Linked DNA regions of Homo sapiens: regions 1 and 2 are each linked to region 3. Evidence: promoter capture Hi-C in 16 types of primary human blood cells and fetal thymus (Javierre and others, 2016). All regions are on one chromosome and are shown on one strand. Each heading gives the region's core, a stretch centred on a gene start or on the middle of the fragment in contact. The rest is flanking DNA. Distances are from core to core; before and after follow the strand shown.

Region 1 (4,292 bases), core at 393-2,892, 120 kb after region 3:
AGGGTTGCCACAAACCTTCAACTTGTAAAAAAAACATAGTCTCTGCGAAGCACAGTGAAGTAAAGCACAATAACACAAGGTATGCCTGTGTACTTATTCAGAATTGTTCTGTCTTCTTGAAGAATTGACTCCTTCATCTTTATCACTGTGTAATGTCCCTCTTTATCCTTGATAACTTTACTGTCTCTGATGCCTGCTTTGCTTACGTAACTACACCACCTTTTTTTGATTAGTGTTATCATGGCATGTCTTTCTCCAGTCCTCGCTTTTTTTTTTTAATAGACTTTATTTGTTAGAGCAGTTTAGGTTCACAGCTAAATTGAACAGGAAATACAAAGAGTTCCCACATGCCCGCCTCCCCAACATACCCATAGCATCCCCCACTTTCAGCATCCCCCACCAGAGTGGGGCACACCGTCACCCAAAGTTTACATTTGGGTCTACTCTTGATGTTGTACGTTTTACGGGTTTAACCAATGTATAATGACATATATTCATCATTATATATCTTACAGAATAGTTTTTTGGGTTTTTTCGAGACAGAGTCTCGCTCTATTGCCCAGGCTGGAGTGCGGTGGCACAGTCGCATCTCGGCTCACTGCAACCTCCGCCTCCCAGGTTCAAGCAATTCTCCTACCTCAGCCTCCCAGGTAGCTGGGATTACATGTGTATGCCACCACACGTGGCTAATTTTTGTATTTTTAGTAGAGATGGGGTCTCACCATGTTGGCCAGGCCAGTCTCAAACTCCTGACCTCAAGTGATCTGCCCACCTTGGCCTCCCAAAGTGTAGGAATTACAGGAAAGAGCCACCACACCCAGCCAGAATAGTTTCAATGCCTTAAAAATTCTGTGCTTCATATAGTTACCTTCCTTTCCCCAACCCCTGGAAACCACTGATCTTTTTATTGTCTCCATGGTTTTGCCTGTTCCAGGTTGTCATATAGTTAGAATCACCCCTTTTCTTGTATTTATTTATTTACTTATTTTTTGTTCTTAGAGATGGGGTCTCATTATTTTGCCCAGGCTGCTCTCAAGCCTCTGGGCTCGAGCAGTCCTCCTGCCTCAGCCTACCAAGTAGCTGGGACTACAGGCATGAGCCACTGTGTCCACCTACTATTAATCTGTCTTTGTCTTTTGTAGTTAAAATTAAATTTTTAAAAACATAAACCCATTTCTTTTTTTTGTTTTTTTTGTTTTTTTTTTTGAGACGGAATCTCACTTTGTCACCAGGCTGGAGTGCAGTGGCACGATCTTGACTCCCTGCAACCTCTGCCTCCTGGGTTCAAGCAATTGCCCTGCCTCAGCCTGCCGAGTAGCTGGGACTACAGGCACACGCCACCACACCCGGCTAATTTTTTGTATTTTAGTAGAGACAGGGTTTCACCGTGTTGGCCAGGACGGTCTCAATCTCCTGACCTCAGGTGATTCACCCACCTCAGCCTCCCAAAGTGCTGGGATTACAGGCGTGAGCCACCGTGCCCGGCCTTATTCTTTTTTTTTAATCTTCACTTCTTTTTATCTTCTTTTTCTGCCTTCTCTGGTTTTAGCTGAGTATTTTATATGATTCAGTTTTCTCAGCCAGGCATGGTGGCTCACGACCATAATCCCAACACTTTGGGAGGCTGAGGCGGGTAGGTCACCTGAGGTCAGGAGTTCAAGACTGGCCTGGCCAACATGATGAAACCCTGTCTCTACTAATAATACAAAAATTAACCAGGCGTGGTGGCACACACCTGTAATCCCAGCTACTTGGGAGACTGAGGCAGGAGAATCACTTGACCCCAGTAGGTGGATGTTGCAGTGAGCCAAGATCACACCATTGCATTCCAGGCTGGGCGAGAAGAGTGAAAATCCATCTCCAAAAAAAAAATGATAATAAAATAAAAATAAATTTTCTCTCCTCTCAGCATTATTAATTATGCTTTAAAAAATTTTTTTTAGTGATTGCTCTAGAGTTTACAATAAACATTTATAACCTAACTCTACTTTCAAATAATATTATACCACTTCATGGGTAGTAGAAAGAGTTCCCCACTCTTTCCTTCCATGCCCTATGACATTGGTACCACTTATTTCACTCATTCATAAACTATAGTAATTCAAGACATGGTGGCTGTTATTTGTTTGAACAGAAAGTTGTCTCTCAGATCAGTTGGGAATATGAAATACAAAAGATTCTATTTTATGTTCATTGTTTTTTTTCTCTAACATCACTCTTCCTTTCTTCATGCAGATGTGAGTTTCTGGCCTGCATCATTTATCTTCTCTCTGAAAGACTTTTAACATTTCTTGCAAGGCAGGTCTTCTGGCAACAGATTCCGGTGTCTCTTTGTTTATTTTTGTCTGACAAAGTCATTATTTCTCCTTTACTTTTGAGGCATAATTTCACTGGACACAGAATTCTAGGTTGGCAAGAGGTTTGTTTAAGCACTTTAAATATTTCACTTCACTCTTTCTTGCATGAATGGTTTCTGAAGGGAAGTGTGATGTAATGTTTTTGTGCAGGTTAAAAGAGCAGAACCTTGTGAAAGAGCTGAGGCCCCGAGACCTCCTGGAGAGCAGCAGTGACAGCGATGAGAAAGTCCCTTTGGCTAAGGCTTCCTCACTGTCCAAGCGAAAACTTGAGCTTGAGGTAGAGACAGTAGAGAAGAAGAAGAAAGGGCGGCCTCGGAAGGACTCTCGTCTCATGCCTGTGTCTCTGTCTGTCCAGGTGAGGCCAGTGGGCCCATCCTGCCTTCTTTAGCCCACCTTTCTGTACTTAGAGCTTGAAGGCCCTGTGTGCATGGTAAGCCTCAGCTGGGTGGGTCACCTTGGGAACCAGCTGGCTTAGACATGCAGCCCCTGGAATGTAGCATGGAGGCCACGCTCTCCCTCAGATGTGCCCTTGACTCACCCAGGGCCCTTGAGCAGGTTCCCTGGCATCAACTGGCTTGTCCATGAGGTTAGGATCCTTGTAGCATTCCCCTCTGCTTCCTCCCTCCCAGGGTGGAAATGCTCTGGTCGCAGGCTCAGCCTCACTTCTGGGTGACCTGCCTTTACCAAATGCTACCCCGTAGTGTTAGAGCAAGGCTCAGGAACGTTTCTGGCTCTTCCAGTCTCCAGCTGCCCTAACCGCAGAGAAGGAGGCCATGTGTCTGTCTGCACCAGCACTTGCACTGAAGCTGCCAATTCCAAGCCCCCAGAGAGCATTCACCCTCCAGGTAAGTTCTAGGACCCTGCCAGTTCTCCCTCAGGCACACCCAGACATTCTCTGTCCCCTACTGCATACAAATCCTATCTTGTCACTTCCTTGGAGATTGGTTTCCAGTGGCTCTCCATCACCTTCTGGGAGAAGTCATAGCAGATCGGGGTACCCACCAACTCTTAGCGAAATTGCCAGCCTCCACTCTCACTCACCCATAGCCTCTGTCTGGCTTTGCCCTTGGGATTCCAGCTGCTGGGGCTGCCATTACCACCACATGTTCTGGTGCTCTTCAGGACTCCTCTCAGGTGTCCTGGCTGGAAGCCACCTCCACCTCCACACACAGCCCTGGGCAGCCTCAGGCTTGGTGTCTGTGGGAATGTGTGGTCATAATCTATCTCCCAACCATCCTGCTAGCTTTGTCTTCTCAGTGTCTGGCACAGTCAATCATCAGAGTTGTTTGAGCTCTTGGAATGGAAGCTTGTAAGCATGTGGTTATCCAAAACACAATTCTGGAGTAAATAATCCTTTATACCCAGAGCCCTCCTGGTCACTTGGCCCAGCATAGTATCTAGGCCTCTCCTGCCATGGTGCCGTCACACACACTGCTGCCTCTCTGCATACCCTTGTACCTCAGCTCAGGTGCGTGTCCTCGAGCAGCCTTCTTGGACCCTGCTTGCGGGTCACTTCCCACTGGCTACACACTGCTCTGAGCCCAGGTTGGTCCTCACAGGGCACCAGAGAGCAGGCGTCAGCCCTTCCTACCATAGGTCCTTCTGGGCCACAGTGCAGAGGAATGAAGCAGGGAAGCCAAAGGGTAGGAACCCATAGGGTTTGTTCTTATTGCTGGTGTGAACGGAGGCAGGGGCCCTCCAGTGGTCAGCAGCGTTCAGACGTGCTCTTGCACTCAGAGGTGTTCTGACTTAGGTTCCCTCCTGGGTGCCCTGCTTCTCAGCACAGAACTCTCCCAAACTCCTCCAGCCCTTCCCCTAGGCATCTTGCCCTCCAAGCACTGCTTGGGACTGTCATTTCTGGGTCTGTGAAGGGGGCAGTCAGCCCTCGGCCCAGCTCACCCACTTGAGTGGCCACACAAGCACAGACTGTTTGGT
Region 2 (4,206 bases), core at 1,707-4,206, 90 kb after region 3:
GGAGTGAGTAGGTCTTTGTTTCTGAAGCCCCCTTGCAGGCTCAGCTTTTCTGCAGGTCCTAGGGCTGGCCCTGCCTGGCCAGAGGGAATTGAGAAGGCTAGTTTCAGTAGCTACGCATCCCTTCTACTTGGCAAGCTCCAGAAATGGAGAGTTTGGTAGCTCTAGTTTCAAATCTGCATTTCCCAGCTTACTCATTTGGTGCCTCCGCACATACTTTCTGACCTCCCTAAGCTTCCTTTCCATCATCAGCCAGATGCCTCATAGGTGGTCGGGAAGATGAAATGCATGCTCAGTGCCTGGGCTCAGAGAATGTCTGTGGGAGACTCCCTTCAGTGGGCTGGGACTTGGGCACAGGGGACATGCCTGATGCTTGATTAATTATTTTTAACATCTGTTATTTGGCTTTAGAAATTCAACCCAAAAATCTTCAAAAAGAAGCAGAAGAATGGGAGTTCTGCGAAGCCTAGCTGCCCGTACTGCTGCTGTGCTGTTGGCAGCAAGGACCGCTCGCTTTCTGTCTGGGTGAGCCTGCTATCCTGAGCTTTTGTTGCAGGACGGGAGGTGTAGGTTGGTAAAGTAGCAAGTGGAGGAAAGAGACCTGCTTTGGGTGATGCTAAGAGTGTATTTCTATTCTGCACCTGGGGTCAGCCCCTCCTTGGAAGCTCACAGGCTCTCCTGCTCTCCCAGAAGGAAGTGCTGAAGACTGGGTCTGTGCCCAGCCAGGAGAGGCCACCTTGACCCCCACCTAGACCAGCTCTTGTGTCCAGACTCAGGCAGCACCCTCAGTGGTCAATGCCATGAGCAGCATGTTGGGCTTGCTTCCTATTAGAAAAATCTTTATATGGCTGGGCGCGGTGGCTCACGCCTGTAATCCCAGCACTTTAGGAGGCCGAGGTGGGCGGATCACAAGGTCAGGAGTTCGAGACCATCCTGGCTAACACAGTGAAACCCCGTCTCTACTAAAAATACAAAAAATTAGCTGGGCGTGGTGGTGGGCGCCTGTAGTCCCAGCTACTCGGGAGGCTGAGACGGAGAATGGCGTGAACCTGGGAGGCAGAGCTTGCAGTGAGCTGAGACCGCGCCACTGCACTCCAGCCTGGGCAACAGAGCGAGACTCCGTCTCAAAAAAAAAAAAAAAAGAAAAAGAAAAATCTTTATATAAAGTGTATTCACCTGAAAGGTACAGTTTGGTGAGTTGTCATACATGTTTACACACCAGTGTCATCACTGCCTAGAGCACTCCTTTTTGTCCCTTTGTCCCTCCCCAGTCAAGACCTCCCTCACCACCAAAGCAACCACTCTAATGGCCTCTGTTACACTGATGAGTTTTGCCTGCTCTTGAACTTCATATAAATGCAATTGTGTGGTACTTGCTTCTTTGTGTCTTCATTTCTTTTGCTTGGCACAGTGTTTTTGAGATTCGTGTATGTTGCTGCACTTAACAGTATTTTATTCCTTATAATTTCGGTGTAGCATTCCACTGTATGAATACACCACAATTTGTTTATACAGTCTCCTGTTGATGGACATTAAGATTGTTCCAGTTTTGAGATATTATGACTAAAGCTGATATGAACATTCTTGTATAAGTCTTTATGTGGATGTACGTTTTCATTTATGAGTACATACCTATGAGTAGAGTTCTAAAATTAAAAAAAAAAACAAAAAAATAGTACCAAGTGTCAGCAAGGACATGATAAGCTGGAACTGATACATTGCTGACACGTGTTGCTGACAGGTGTTTACGCTGGCATGAGCACTTGGGAAAACTGTCTGGCAGTTTCTACCACAGCTAAGCATATGACCTAGAGCACTTCCACTCCTAGGCATACAACCAAGACAGATAAGTGCTTATGTCCACAGAAAAAGACACACAGAAAGCTGACGCCTCTATTAGTCCATTTCACCCCTGGGTGATGCTGTGATGGGTAAGGTTGTGAGCCTAGTACTCCTCACTCGCTGGATCCCCTGAGATGAGGCGATGTCTTCAGCTTCTTTTTTTTTTTTTTTTTTTTTTTTTTGAGACAGAGTCTCCCTCTATTGCCCAGCAGGCTGGAGTGCAGTGGTGCAATCTTGGCTTCTTGAGTCACTGCAACCTCTGCCTCCTGGGTTCGAGCGAGATTCTCCTGCCTCAGCCTCCTGAATAGCTGGGATTACAGGCCACCACACCCGGTTAATTTTTTTGTAATTTTAGTAAAGATGGGGTTTCACCATGTTGTCCAGGCTGGTCACAAACTCCTGACCTCAGGTGATCCGCCCGCCTTGGCCTCCCAAAGTACTGGGATTACAGGTGTGAGCCACCACACCCAGCCCGATGTGTCTTCAGTTTCATTGTTCCCCTCACCTTCCTAACTCAGTGCCCTCTACAGAGCAGGTTCTCAGCAGATATACTCAATGGTAGTTGGCGAGTGAGAACCCAAGGGTAAGAACTGTGGCGGTTTCTAAGTGAGGGCTCCTGAAGGGTTAAGTTTCTCACTGCCAGGGGCTGGTGTGCTGTGACCTGACTGTGTGGTAAGAGACACCTCCGCATGCAGTGCAGGGAGCAGTCTTGGTGCTGAGCATCAAGGTGCCAATATATTTAAAGTTTGATAAAGCAAAGTGCACACACATTAATTTTTTTTTTTTTTCATTTTGTAAAAAAGTGTCCCTATAAGCAGAGCAAGTTGGAAGTTCTGGGTTTGAAGGTTATCCTCTGGCTGCATTTATTAGTTTGGTATAGAGAAATATATTACTGTGTGCGTTGTGATTTTTTTTTTTTTTTTTAGGCCAAGTATTCACTTAACACCCATTCTGGAACCTGAACCACAGTACCACAGATTGCCGTTCAGGGGACCTTCCCTGTTTCCTCCCAGCCAGAGGCCCTGTTTGTGGCGCTGCAACCAAAACATCACTGACTGTGATGCCCATATTTCTTAGAATGCTCAGGTTAGGCAGTCACACGGCCTGTAGATTTCTGAGGGGTCTGTAGGCACATTTATGAGAGGAGGGACAAGGCAGCTTTTTCTAGAAGTGGAATTAAGGTGGAGGCGAGATTCTTAATGTGGGTTCCAGATCGTTCAGACTTCAGCCCCCTCTCCACCACTAGGGTAGACACAGCTTCTCCTTCCCCACATAGCAGTCTCAGGCTGCACTGGGACGCTCAGCCCCACAGCCTCCCAGAAGCTGCAGCAGCACCTATGGGAGCCCACCATCCCGTGAGGAAGTGTGTTTCTTCCCTGCCCATTGTCCTGCAGTTCAGGGCCAGCCAGCAGGGTAGCCAGGCACTTGTGCACAAGTGGAAAGGCCTACCATAGTTGTGGGAACGTGGAGTCAGAGTGTATGCCAGCAATTGAGTGACTCGATAGAGAATATGCACAGTGCATGCTATGCAGTCATCCAGAAGAGACTTTTACAGGATATTTAATGACATACTTATTGTGTGTTAAATGAAAAAACAGACACAACTATGAAGAATAAAATAAATTCTTACTTTGAAGAATAAAATAAATATTTGCACAAAATAGAAGATAATAATTCATCAAAGTATTAATAGTCGGTAACTAGGCCCAGATTAAGGGCCCAGGTGTGTATTTCTGTACTACCTACACATAGTGTAGAATGAGCCTTGGATAAATGTGTACCAGAGTCCCTTGGGCCCAGGGAAGATGTGTTGTGTTCTCTCTCAGGGTGCCTCATCCCCTGTCTAGGCTTTGGCATCGTGTCTCCTGCTCCATAGACCCTCTCAGAGGTCCACCCTGGGGCTGTCCCTCTCCTCCGACCATAGCCCTTCAGAAACCCACTCCCACTCTGCCTTCTCTGTTGCTAGTTATCTGTGTATAAAGCTATTTCCCCTGTCAGACCACAGCAAGCCCTGGAGGCAGGGTCCACTCTAGGTAGCATGCACATTTTTGGCAGGCTTTGGTTCCCACAGTTTGGGATCTCTGCAGCTGCAGTTTGAATAGAGTTGAAGATGCCTTAAATATCAGCAGCCACTTTGACCCAGGCTTCTAGGTTGGTTATGTTAACTGAGCTGAATACAGAAGGGGATTTCAGTAATTTCATTAACCTTGACTGTGTCTTTCCTTCCAGCTCACATGTCTGAAACGGCCGCTGGTGGTCATCCATGAACTGTTTGACAAATCCATCATGGATATTTCCTGGTAAGGTGGATTCTACTTACAGGAATAGGTTAAGAAAGGAGAAGCCACACATTGGAACATGAGGCCT
Region 3 (4,221 bases), core at 1,362-3,861:
AAGTGCTTTAGCATGGTGACACAGCAGGGTGGGCCCTGGGGCTCCCAGTTTTCCCCAGGAGCACGCTGAGACTCAGCAAGCCCAAGTCTCGTGGACAGGCTCAAGAAACTAATGAGGAGCAGACCAAGACTTCGAGCACGTGATTGGGTCTCTCCAGACCTCACAGTACTATGCTGCGTGCCTCTCCAGGCTAATGGCATCGTACAGGTTTAAGTTTTTAGCAAATACTTTATGGGTACTTAAATATTAAGTCCTTTATCACACTCTATCACTATAGCACTTTCTTTCCTTATAAATACCAAGCTGGTGCGGGTCCTTGACATAATAACAGGAACATCAGGAGAGGATTTGTCTCTGCCAAAACAATCCTAGATATGGCTAGGGACTCCAGGGACCCTCTTCCATGTCCCATCCCCTCTCTGTGGGGTGTACAATGTCCCATCTCTCATTTGGCCCCATGCAGAGGTGGGAGGAATCCTGGCATCTATTGTTTAAATTTATTCCTGGATTTTAAGTTGGAAACCAGGATGCATTTTCTCAGAGAAATAACATAAAATAGTAGTGTATTCTAAAATAATTTTAACTAATTCCAGCACTTTGGGAGGCTGAGGCAGGCGGATCACTTGAGGTCAGGAGTTCGAGACCAGCCTGGCCAATGTGGCGAAACCCCGTCTCTACTAGAAATACAAAAATTAGCCAGGCGTGGTGGTGGGCACTTGTAATCCCAGCTAGTTAGGAGGCTGAGGCAGGAGAATCGCTTGAACCCAGAAGGCGGAGGTTGCAGTGAGCCAAGATTGCACCATGACACTCCAGCCTGAGTGACAAAGCGAGGTTCCGTCTCAAAAATAAATAAATAAAGGCTGGGCGTGGTGGCTCATACCTGTAATCCCAGCACTTTCGGAGGTGGGCAGATCACAAAGTCAGGAGATCAAGACCATCCTGACTAACATGGTGAAACTCCGTCTCTACTAAAAATACAAAAACATTAGCCAGGTGTGGTGGCGGGTGCCTGTAGTCCCAGCTACTCAGGAGGCTGAGGCAGAAGAATGGCATGAACCCAGGAGACACAGCTTGCAGTGAGCCGAGATCGTGCCACTGCACTCCAGCCTGGGCGACACAGCGAGACTCCGTTTCAAAAAAAATAAAAAATAAAAAAATAAACCAAAATAAAATAAAATAATTTTAACTAGACCATATTAAAAACTGCTAGATTCCAAGCACCTTACAATCAAATTTCTGCAAAACAAGTTAAAACAAGTTCAAAGTTGGGGCTATCCACATTCATTATCTTTTTTTGCTGTCAATTTTGCTTCTACAACTTGGGCGTGGTAAGTCACCAGTAAATACAGCATGTTTTTCTCTTCCATATTGCCTAATGTAGCTGATACTTAAATACACGCTTAATCTATCGTGGAAATAGAATGCTGTGTCAAGAAATTACAATTGAGTAAAAAGCCACGTTATTCTAAAACGCATCTTCAATACCTGTTCTTTATGCTCAAGAAATGCAGTTTCAAGTTCTTGCCACCCAGAAACTGGAACCAGCGTATATTGCACGTGGTCACACTGGAACAAGGCCTGGAGAGAGAGTGTTTTCAAAGCCTATCTTATTTAGGACATTAGCAATTTACCTTGAAAAGAAACTGAGGAAGATTAGACGGGTTGAGAGACAAAAGACACGGGATAACATTAAAGCTAGTGAAATGCTTACGGGAAAAGCTAGGTGCTAGGGATATGAGCGTTTACCATACCATTCTGTGAATTTTGCAAATTACCAAAGTAAAACATCGGGGAGAAATGCCGATTTAACTTCCAGGCCTTCTGAAAAGTTCCTGATCCAAGGGCCTGACCAAAACAACGTAAATACTATGCCCTATTCAAAACCAAACTAACGATCTTCCCTAATAGACTAGGGGCTCCCATATTCCCAGCAACACCTGTGACACGACTATACCCACAGTTGTCACAGATTCCTCTCTCTCAAATCCCCCATTTGAGAGGCCACGACAGATCCAAAGTTTCCCCCAAATGCAACTGCTGTGTTCACCTATTAATATTAATAGCTTATTGCAAAAATACAAACTAGTCTCTTTACCTTTTACTTAATCCTTTATCCCACCCCACACCGTTGGGACAGGGAGGCAACCTCTCCTCCGAGTCTCTCTCCTCTCACTTGCTGTTCACCTCCTGCCCTGCTCCCTCTCCCACCCTAAGCCCTCAGCACCCATCCTGACACTCTGCCCGCCCTGCGCCCCCACGCAGCACCCTCACCTCGCGCGCCGGCCCCGCCCTCCTAGGGTCCGCAGAACTCACCTGAAGGATCTTGCACGCACACAGAGCATCCACGTCCGAGGCCACGAAGAGAAGGACCCTCTATCGGGGAAGAGCAGACCGGCTGAACACGGCGACCCGAACCCCGGCCCTCCCCTGCCTCCCGGTCACCCACGGTCGCTCCCCCTCATCCCTTCCCCACCGGCAAGGCCTCGGCGGGGGTCCCGGACTGGGCGTCACCTGGCTCTGGACCACCTCGTAGAACTCTTTGCGGAAATCGGACACGAACATAGCCACGGCGGCCGGACGCCTGGCGCTCGCGCTGAGGTACCAAGAGCCCGGCGGCGGTCAAGACTCCCGCCAAATCACGGCTCCTCCGATTGGTCCAGGGATCACCAACCAATAGCTTCTTAGTTCCCAGCCTTCCTTTCTTTCTGATTGGGCCACATTGGAGGCGGCCATTAGCGCTCTGCCATTCACGGCCAGAAAACTCCAGCCCGCCCCCAAAGAAGCGTCACCTCTGAGGCCGAACGCAAACACTGTTGCCCCCTTCAACTCTGACTCGCTTTTACCCAGAAAAGCGACGCTGGGCGGACATCTTTACTTTGGGAAGAGAAGCCTACTGCCTCCCACTGGGAACCCTCAGGGAAAGTATACTTCTAACCATACATTAAACTCAGTCACATACCCAATGGGGCAGCATTTACGTTTGCAATAGGTTTTTGGTGTGGTTTGAAGAAGGATTTGTAGCTTAGTTCCGCCCGAGTCCTCGATGGCTGAAGCAGAGGCAGTCTGGGTAGTGCATTGTGGGTAGTGTAGTCGTAAGGACAATGGGCCCTACTAAATTCGTCTGGAGGGGAATACTGTCAACACGTAATTTAAAATAACGTTTAAAAATACCTATAAAAGGGGAAATAAATCACGAAAGGGCATTTTAATGCTTCTACTGAGGGTGTTTTAGAGCCTAGCGTCTTCGCCTGGCCTTTTCTCTTTTGCAGCCGACGCTTTGTCCCGGGCACCCCCCCTCCGGGTCTCGGGTCCGGCACTTCCGGTGAGCCTCTGGGGCGTACCGGCTTGGCGCGGCGGCAGCGGCAGCGGCGGCTGGGAGAGCGGTCGGCGGGGTTTCTTCGTTGCATTGCCTGAGAGGAGCGGAGTCTGCCAGGTGGTGTCCATCATGGTAAGCGCTGACGGGCAGCGGGCGGGGGCTGGGCCTTGGCCCGGGGCCTGAGGTAGGGCCCGGCGGGGCAGGGCGGGGCGGGACGGCGGCGGAGGTGCCGAGTCACCCGGGCCTGAGTCCGGCCTGCAGGCTCATCGGCCGCACCGGGCACAAGCAGGACCCTTGACCACTAACCGCCTGTGGTCGCGTCCGCCGGTCCTGAACGTGGCTCGCATTCTGTCTCAGCCGGACTTGCCCTCCTTGACGAAAGAAAGGAAGGTTTGTGTCCATTCACGGGTTTCCCAAGTGCTGGACGCGCAACAGGTTTCCATAAACCCAAAGTTAGTTGCAAGGTTGCTGGGGATGGGAACAGAATCAGGGCGCTCCCCAGGGAGAATCCGTAGTGGGCATCCCCCGCTCTTGGGGGACACCCAGCTCTTGCCCCAGCTCCGTGAGCTCCGTGCCTACGGGTTCGTGCCTTCGAATCTGTACAGCGGTGTTGTGTTCGGTAATGATAACGATGGAAGCTAATACCTGCTGGTACATTTCCTGTTACACAGCTTTTAACACCTGTACTCCCTCATCGCGGCTTATTTCTTTTAATCCCTACAATCCCTTTGGAAGCAAGGATGATGATGATTTTAAACATGAGAAAACTAACGTTTACAGAGGTACTTTATTCGAGTCACAGAAGTAGGGACTGGAGAGTTGAAGCCAAGTCTGTCTGGCTGCAAAGCACTCTACGGTATTGTCTTCCTGTCACCTGTTTATTTTAGTAAAGACAAGGAATGATT

What was found. The method cuts DNA at HindIII sites, captures the fragments that hold promoters and counts their contacts. A CHiCAGO score of 5 or more calls a contact.
Region 1: a contact is called between a fragment that was not itself captured here and the fragment with the promoter of CDC45 in region 3, in 1 of 17 cell types (total B cells). The highest score is 5.2, in total B cells.
Region 2: a fragment that was not itself captured here is called in contact with the fragment with the promoter of CDC45 in region 3 in 2 of 17 cell types (erythroblasts and total CD8 T cells); the score reaches 6.0 in erythroblasts.

What each region holds. Positions count from the first base shown.
Region 1 is chr22:19,360,147-19,364,438 of GRCh38, reverse strand. HIRA (histone cell cycle regulator) reads left to right here. Exons shown (of 25, transcript NM_003325.4): 16 at 2,508-2,712; 17 at 3,098-3,202. Among named protein-coding and RNA genes, the nearest start is that of HIRA, 69 kb to the left of the region's middle. The HindIII fragment of the contact is 4,046 bases long and covers 1-3,665 here.
Region 2 is chr22:19,388,417-19,392,622 of GRCh38, reverse strand. It overlaps HIRA (histone cell cycle regulator), which reads left to right. Exons shown (of 25, transcript NM_003325.4): 9 at 409-522; 10 at 4,069-4,139. Among named protein-coding and RNA genes, the nearest start is that of HIRA, 41 kb to the left of the region's middle. The HindIII fragment of the contact is 5,446 bases long and covers 234-4,206 here.
Region 3 is chr22:19,478,310-19,482,530 of GRCh38, reverse strand. CDC45 (cell division cycle 45) reads right to left here and starts at 2,611. Exons shown (of 19, transcript NM_003504.5): 1 at 2,512-2,611; 2 at 2,314-2,373; 3 at 1,486-1,578. The coding sequence starts at 2,562. It overlaps UFD1 (ubiquitin recognition factor in ER associated degradation 1), which reads left to right and starts at 3,338. Exons shown (of 12, transcript NM_005659.7): 1 at 3,338-3,448. The coding sequence starts at 3,446. RefSeq lists silencers at 2,662-2,711, 3,502-3,571 and an enhancer at 2,802-3,101. The HindIII fragment of the contact is 12,348 bases long and covers 1-4,221 here.